2 separate regions of the Homo sapiens genome follow, and region 1 is linked to region 2. The links are contacts of gene promoters, found by promoter capture Hi-C in human tissues and cell types (Jung and others, 2019). All regions are on one chromosome and are shown on one strand. The core of a region is centred on a gene start or on the middle of the fragment in contact, and the rest is flanking DNA. Distances in the headings are between cores, read along the strand shown.

The links. The method cuts DNA at HindIII sites, captures the fragments that hold promoters and counts their contacts. A contact is called where the count stands out against the background at its distance.
Region 1: a fragment that was not itself captured here is called in contact with the fragment with the promoter of SLITRK1 in region 2 in 2 of the 25 tissues and cell types used here (dorsolateral prefrontal cortex and lymphoblastoid cells).

What each region holds. Positions count from the first base shown.
Region 1 is chr13:83,752,364-83,756,652 of GRCh38, forward strand. The region is part of intron 3 of LOC105370286 (a long non-coding RNA gene); the gene reads right to left. Among named protein-coding and RNA genes, the nearest start is that of SLITRK1, 130 kb to the right of the region's middle. The HindIII fragment of the contact is 5,057 bases long and covers 1-4,199 here.
Region 2 is chr13:83,881,108-83,885,424 of GRCh38, forward strand. SLITRK1 (SLIT and NTRK like family member 1) reads right to left here and starts at 1,367. Exons shown (of 2, transcript NM_001281503.2): 1 at 897-1,367; 2 at 1-453. The coding sequence starts at 400. The HindIII fragment of the contact is 12,657 bases long and covers 1-3,341 here.

The DNA of each region.
Region 1 (4,289 bases), core at 421-2,920, 130 kb before region 2:
ATAAGGTTATTTTGGTTGCTGATGACACAGATCAGCCAGAGCAGGGGGAAAAAAAAAAATCACACTTAATGAGTGTAGCTTTTCATATAAGCTGAATTAAGAGGAAAAGACACAAAATAAAACAAAGGGGCATATACTTACACACGTGCATACACACACGTGCGTGGATTTACTCACATGCTACACAAATTGCATTTCCAATTCGTTATCCGAGGATAGACAATCACAACAGAAATAACTTTTCAACTGTGGCAAAACAGATGTAGCCATATAATCCTTAATAAGGGAACGTAGTTGCCTGTAGCGCAATGCCTAAACAAGGTAGAGTATACTGGGGCCCTAAAAAGGCAACTTGTGCTGTAATTCTAACTTTTTATGCATAGAACTTTGACATTTGTCTTAACTTATCAGTCAATATGCTTTTTTTTCATAAATTTATAGAAGTCTTGAGCTAAATTCTGCATCAGCAAAGCCACATATTCTTCTAGAATGAGAAATCACAGTTAGTGCCTAAATGACTGAAAAAAACTCTGCATTTTGCTTTCTCAATAAATGACTTTCTTTCTACAGTAGCACAACTATATTTCAAAGTTCTGATGAAACAAACAACCTGAAATTTAGCCATAATAAATGCAATGTCTGTGTTTTGACTTAAAACATAATAAAAATATAGAATGAGTGAAGAGGCAGGGGTAATATCTAGCAAGAAAAAAATTAACTCAGATATATATGATTTTATTTTAATGTTTCCTAGTTCACTGTGCCTCTAAAATAGTAAACACCCTCAAGATTTAAGCCTAAATAAATAAATTTAGGGTCCAGCTAAGGAAGCTTATCTGTGAAACCCTTGTAATCCCAGCACTGCACTTTAGAGTTATTACAAACTAGAGTAATGCAAAAAAGCAAATAACATATTACAAGATAAATTGAGTAATATAGTTTGAACAAGTAAATATTTCTAACCATCTTCAAATACTTCATTGGCATCCAGGTAGAAGAAAGCAGATTGATTTCATGTGTGAAGGACCAGGACAAATCTTAGGGAAGTTGATATTTAATCAGTCCAAGTAAGGAAATTGATTAGAATTAAAACAATCCATTAATAGGTATAGACTGTGTCACAGTCACAGGGGAAACACAAAGTGGCTTATTCAAATAAAGTTTAGATAAATATCTATGAAAGATTTTGTAGAAGGGATTCAAATGACACAGTTAATTCAGAAAATCATGCTGAAATCTGACCATGAGAACAGTTTATCAAAGGAAGTTCTGAACTCTGAAAAATCTCTAATGTTTTTGTCCAATAGAACAAGTACCCAAGAAATAGACCCACATTAGCCACATGATTAGTATGCTTCACCATCACCTAGCGCATTGATGTCTTGGCCTAATTTGTAAATGTGTACAATATAAACCTTGCATTTAGATAGATACAAGGTCATCTACATTTGTGATTCTGTACCCTAGCTGTCCATTAGAGTCGCCTGAGTTTTTTTTTTTTTTTTAACTCATCAATTCTTAGTCTTCTCTACACCCAGATATTTTTATATAAATGTTTGGAGTAGGTTTTTCCTTTCCTGCATTCAGAGCTGAGAGCCACAGAAGTCATCTAACTTTATTACAATGGGAGTGAATAGCAATCTCATGATGTCAATTATATACAGCTTCAGTATTTCTCAGGAAAGAAAATAACTTTCTCATTTATTCATAAATCAAATAAACAATGAGTCCTTTTGCTAAGTCGAAGAATAAAAGAAAAACAAGATCCCCAGGCAATATGGCCCAACAGCAACAGCTCCGTTCTGCAGCTCCCAGCGAGACCAACACAGAAGGTGGGTGTTTCCTGCATTCCTAACTGAGGTAACCAGTTCATCTCATTGGGACTGGTTAGACAGTGAGTGCAGCCCACGGAGGGCAAGCTGAAGCAGGATAGGGCGTTGCCTTACCTGGGAAGTGCAAGGGGTCAGGGAACTCCCTCCCCTAGCCGAGGGAAGCCGTGAGAAACTGTGCTGTGAGGAACAGTGCACTCCGGCCCAGATACTATGCTTTTCCCACAGTCTTCACAAACCGCAGACCAGAGGATTCCCTTGGGTGCCAATGCCACCAGGGCCCTGGGTTTCAACCACAAAACTGGGCAGCTGTTTAGGCAGACACCAAGCTAGCTGCAGGAGGTTTTTTTTGTACCCCAGTGGCACCTGCAATGCCAATGAGACAGAACCATTCACTCCCCCGGAAACGGGACTGAAGCCAGAGAGCCAAGTGGTCTTGCTCAGTGGATCCGACTCCCATGGAGCCCAGCAAGCTAAGATCCACTGGCTTGAAATTCTCGCTGCTAGCACAGCACTCTGAAGTTGACCTGGGAGTCTTGAACTTGGTGGGGGGAGGGCATCCTCAATTACTGAGGCTTGAGTAGGCAGTTTTTCCCTCACAGTGTTAACAAAGCCACTGGCAAGTTTGGACTGGGTGGGGCCCATCGCAGTGCCCCAAAACTGCTATACCCAGACTACATCTCTAGATTCCTCCTCTCTGGGTGGGGCATCTCTGAAAGAAAGGCAGCAGCCCCAGTTAGGGGCATATAAATAAAATCCCATATCCCTAGGACAGAGCACCTGGGGGAACAGGCAGCTGCGGGCACAACTTCAGCAGACTTCAACATTCCTGCCGGCTCTGAAGAGAGCAGCAGATCTTCCAGCACAGTGCTCAAGCTCTGCTAAGGGACAGACTGCCTCCTCAGGTGGGTCCCTGACCCCTTTGCCTCCTGACTGGGAGACATCTCCCAGCAGGGGTCAACAGACACCTCAAACAAGAGAGCTCCAGCTGGCATCTGGCAGGCGCCCCTCTGGGACAAAGCTTCCAGAGGAAGAAGCAGGCAGCAAACTTTGCTATTCTTCAGTTTCTGCTGGTGATACCCAGGCAAACAAGGTCTGGAGTGGACCTCCAGCAAACTCCAGCAGACCTGCAGAAGAGGGGCCTGACTGTTAGAAGGAAAACTAAAAAACAGAAAGCAGTAGCATCAACCTCAACAAAAACGATGACCACGCAAAAACCCCATTGGAAGGTCACCAACATCAAAGACCAAAGGTAGATAAATCCAGAATGCCTCTTCTCCTCCAAAGGCTCACAACTAGCCAGCAAGGGAACAAAACTGGACAGAGAATGAGTTTGATGAATTGACAGAAGTAGGCTTCAGAAGGTGGGTAATAACAAACTCCTCTGAGCTAAAGAAGCATGTTCTAACCCAAAGCAAGGAAGCTAAGAACCTTGATAAAAGGTTACAGGAACTGCTAACTGGAATAACCAGTTTAGAGAAAAACATCAATGACTTGATGGAGCTGAAAAACACAGCACGAGAACTTCATGAAACTTGCACAAGTATCAATAGTCGAATCAATCAAGCAGAAGAAATGACATCAGAGATTGGAGATCAACTTAATAAAATAAACTGTGAAGACAAGATTAGAGAAAAAAGAATGAAAAGGAGCAAACAAAGCCTCCAAGAAATATGGGACTATGTGAAAAGACCAAACCTACGTTTCATTGATGGACCTGAAAGTGATGGGGAGAATGGAACCAAGTGGGAAAACACACTTCAGGATATTATCCAGGAAAACTTCCCCAATCTAGCAAGACAGGCCAACATTCAAATTCAGGAAATACAGAGAACATCACAAAGATACTCCTCAAGAAGAGCAACCCCAAGACACATAATCATCAGATTCACCAAGGTTGAAGTGAATGAAAAAATGTTAAGCGCAGCCAGAGAGAAAGGTCGAGTTACTCACAAAGCAAAGTCCATCAGACTACTAGTGGATCTCTCTGCAGAAACCCTAAAAGCCAGAAGAGAGTAAGGGCCAGTATTCAACATTCTTACAGAAAAGAAGTTTCAACCCAGAATTTCATACACAGCCAAACTAAGTTTCATAAGTGAAGGAGAAATAAAATCCTTTACAGACAAGCTAATGCTGAGGGATTTTTGTTACCACCAGGCCTGCTTTAAATGAGTTTCTGAAGGAAGCATTAAATATGGAAAGGAAAAACTGGTACCAGCCACTACAAAAATGTACCAAAATGTAAAGACCATCAGTGCGATGAAGAAAACTGCATCAACTAATGGGCAAAATAACCAGCTAGCATCATAATGACAGGATCAAATTCACACACAACAATATTAACATTAAATGTAAATGGGCTAAATGCCTCAATTAAAAGATACAGACTGACAAATTGAATAAAGTGTCAAGACCCATCGGTGTGCTGTATTCAGGAGACCCATCTCACATGCAAAGACA
Region 2 (4,317 bases), core at 117-2,616:
ATTCCAGATCGTCCAGCCCCAGAAAAGTCTGCTTTCGAAAAGACTTGATCTTGTTGTTGTTGATGTGCAGCCTTTTCACCAGCTGCAGCCCCAGAAAAGCCCCCGGAACGATTTCATGCAAGCCATTGTTTTCCATGTGCAAACTAACCGCATTATAAAAGTTAGCGAACTCATTAGGGAAAAGTCGAGTGAGGGAATTGCCATGCAGAAATAAATGGTAAAACTGGGAAGTCGGGGCAGTGAAACGCTGCAGACTTGTGAAGCCCTTTTTTTCACAGTCTACGTGTAGGTCCCCTTCTATCTCATTGCAGGAACAGATCTTCTCTTTGCAAACGTCCCCTGTAACGTTTCCAGCGGCAAAACAAAGAGACGTCTCCAGCAACAGAATCCAAAGCAGCATTTTTAAAGCGAGCAATTCATCCCCGATCTCATCACAAAGTAACAGCGACCATCCTGCTCGCCACAGACACAATTCAAGTTCATTTAGTGCTCCAATGTCCGAAGCCAGGAAAGGAGAAGAAAAGGGTTTGGGGGGGTGGGGGTGGATTCCTTCCTCCCTAACCCCCCCGCACTGCAATAGCCCAGACGCCAGTCAATAATTATATCCACAAACTATCCAGGCACGTAGTGCAAGGCAAGCAAAGAAAAAAAAAAAAAAAAAAAAGTAGGAAAAAAACCCCACTCCCCCACAACACTTTAAAAATAACAGAAAAAGAAGTTAAATATATACATATAAATTAAAAGTACACCCTTACAGAATCTCATCTACTGATCTTCACTGATCAGAAATGAAACAATGCTAGTAATTAGAAGCAAGTGCATGTTAGAGAAACAAGCAGAGGGTTTGCAGCGTAGTACAGGCGCACTGCCTGTGCATGGCTGTGCGTCGGACTGACCTTGCCTCTCTGATACAAAGCAGGGTTTTCCGCGGCTTCTGTTGTTGAGGCTGCTGGTGGAGTTCTTGCTGTGGTTGCGGGTTGCCCAGAAGTCCCCCCGAGGTGCTGTCCAGTTCCCCCGGTGCTGAAATCACGCCCGACCGAAGGACTCACGCTGCCCAGCCAATGGCGCTGGAAAATTTCCGCAATCGCTGCGTTTTGTGGTTGTCCATCCTTTTCCTTTCCTCCCCTTCGGTCCTCTTAAGGCTTTTTTTTTTCTTTTCTGTGCTCTCGCTCTCGCTTACTAGCTCTTCTTTTCCTGTTCTCCTTCTCTTTCTTCTGCTCTTTCGGAATTACGTGGAGGGGGGCGGAGGGCGGGGGGCGAGTTGTCTGAGGGAGGAAGAGAGCGCGAGAATGAGGGGAGGGGGGCGGAGAAGAGAGTTGCTAAGAAGCTCTGCTCGTTCCAGCCTGGTGCACTCTGAAAGATCTGACACCCTCTGCTGATCTGCAGTAGCAAAAATCCATCTGGCTAGGGAATGCTGAAAGAAAAAAAAATCAATCCACGTACAGGGCAAGCGTTAAAAATGTGGGCATAAAAGGCTGACGATCTACATAGATGCTTATTTTAAATGGATTATTTGATTATTTTTGCGTGCTGGAAACTTTACCCTTTCCTTTCCTTAACGAGTTCACAGCCCCCACCAGCTCCACCATTCGGAAAGGAGTGCTTTTAAAACATTTATTTCCCAATGGCTTGAATAAAATTAGTGTCAGGGTGTCAAGCGAACAGCAATTTGAGGTAATTATACTGCACGCCATTTTCATCGGTTCTTTAAATGCATTTCTTCCTTCTCTGCGGCACAGTGTTTTACGCTATTTGATGTCTTTGAAACATTTCTTTTGGTATGTTCAAAGTGGCTTTCGGAACATATATGTTACATAATATCATAATTGAGTATGAATTTTTTTGCAAGGTATATAAATTAGGCATATACTTTTTAAAACTTGCAGAAATTTAGTCAATTTGGTCATTGAGAGTTAGGTTCTTTGATATTTCTTGAATGTTATTTAACTCTGGAGGGTGAAACACAATGCATGCTGAAGTCCTTGATTCCAGTCCCGAAAGCTTTAACTGAGAACCGGAAAAGAAGGGAGAGGGGGCAGGGAAAAATCCCAAGATGATTTGTGAGTGCTGTTAAAAACCCACTGGCAGGCAGGCGCGCGCACACTACACGCACGCACACACACACACACACCCCACTGACAAAGTTTTCACATCAGTTTGAACTAATTTAAATGTTTACAAGTAAATAACCAGTTGCATTTTGAGAGGAGGAGATAGAAATCTCTGGACTCTAAAGCTCAGCGAGAACGCTCTCTGCAGGTAGCCGGCAGCTCCTCTTCGCGCAGATGCTTGTTGGGTCACTGATGCTGGGGAAACACGAAGCTCAGGCTTTTTCCAGTTAAGGAAACAACAGATTCCAAACTCTGAGCTTATAAAAATCCAGTAATATCACCTTCTGGGATGGAAGAAAACGTGAACATGCTGCTTCCGTGAAGCCTCTTTTGCTGACTTTTCCTTTCAGAGTCGACACCTTTTCACATCAATACGTCCTAAAATATTTATAGATCATTTTAGGATTTGAAATTTTTAGGTCTTTTAAATAGAGTTACTGTTTGGCCCTTTCTTCACTCTATGCAGAGAGGATATGTTTACACCACTTGCCTTTTTAATTAGGTCTTTTGCAAGTTGGACAGCTGCAACGAGCTTGCTAATATTTTGTGCAAAAGAGCAAATGTTCAAGGAAGTGTGTATTTTGAGAAAGATGGGGAGTAAAAATTTGGGGGAAAGGACTGGGGTTGGGAAAATTCCCAAGGCTAGGGAAGGTCTTAAAGATGTTTACAAGATTTTTTTTTCTGGGTCAGAATCTAATTTCTAGGTGGGTGGAGAAAATTTCATATCTATATACAATGTTTTCATATGACAAAATATTTTTGTTGTATTCCTCTGGTGAAATTCAGTGAAGGGAGGTGGGGATGAAGACATTTCAGTGTGTGTGTGTATGTGCATGCATGTGTGTGTTTGTGTGTGTGCACGTGTGTACACTAGAGAGATCTTTTTTAGACATCCTGATACACTTCTGAAATAACTCTGTTCTCATTTAATTTGACCCATTACCACATGTAGAGAGTGAAAAAAAAAGACCTTAATCAATTTGAAACCATTATGCTAAAGAAATGCTATGCAGTTGAGAACTGCAGATGTGGAGGAGTTCAACTGAAGGAAATCATTTTTCTGTTTCTTCTTAAATAGGACTCAGGTCTAAAATATCTTGGCCCAAGAAACCACTCTGAGAAAGGAAATCAGCCTTATGGTGTCTGTGATTAATAGGGTTAGGCAAGACTCAAGGAAAACAGAAAAATGCTGGCTGTTTAGAAAGGACAATCATCTAAAACCCACATTTTTAACCTTAAAAGGTTACATTTTTTTTCAACTTACAGAATATTATCTTTATGTGAAGAGACTCCAAGAACATATTTAAGTTGATTTAAATGAATTTAGATAACCTACAGTTTGTATTCAGATTTCATTCTCCTCTTCACCCTTTAAATTCTGTATCTTTCTCTCATCCCTTATTTCTTCTTTCCTCTTAACACACCAATCACAATAGAAAATTTACAGTTAGGATTCTCCTATTTAGGTATCTTACAAAATTTTTTAAATTATATCCTCTTCAAATAATTTCTTATCTCTGCACTCTAAGAAAAAAGTGTGGTAGTTCTCAGATGAGCAACTAAACCTGAGAAGAAAAGATTAAGATTATACCGCCTATATGAAGATCTCCAATACAAACTTGCAAGCAAAATATAGAGGTACACATGTAAGTCTATTGAAATGGACCCTCTATAATAGCTATCATAATATTTTCATAATAAATATATTTTAGAGACATAAAACGGTCTAGAAAACCACACCTACAACTTCAAAGCCTAACTATTCAAGTTAAACAATAAATTTATTGGTGGAGAATAAAAATATAAGGGATTTATATGTGATCTAAACATTTCTAATACCTTAGGGGAATATTTCTTAGGCATGAATTTTTCTTAAAAGGGTTCCACGCTGTCTATTTGAGCTCAAGTGAACTCCTTCAGTTGCCTTGCCTCTCAACAGATAATCTCAGTAGCTGGAGATAAAGGATATTCCAGATGATGATGATGATTGATAATATTTGCTCAGGGCTATAGTTTAATTTCCTGGCTGTGACCAGAAAGATTTCAATTGTGTCATTAAATGTTCACACATTTCTATTCTTCATCAAACAAGTTCTCCTCTCAAACAAGAAAAGGTGTATGTTGATTGTTCAATAAAGAATTTTTCAGACTAAGAAGAAATTTGCCAGTTAATTATCCATTTTTTCCCAAATGGCATCAAGTTTCT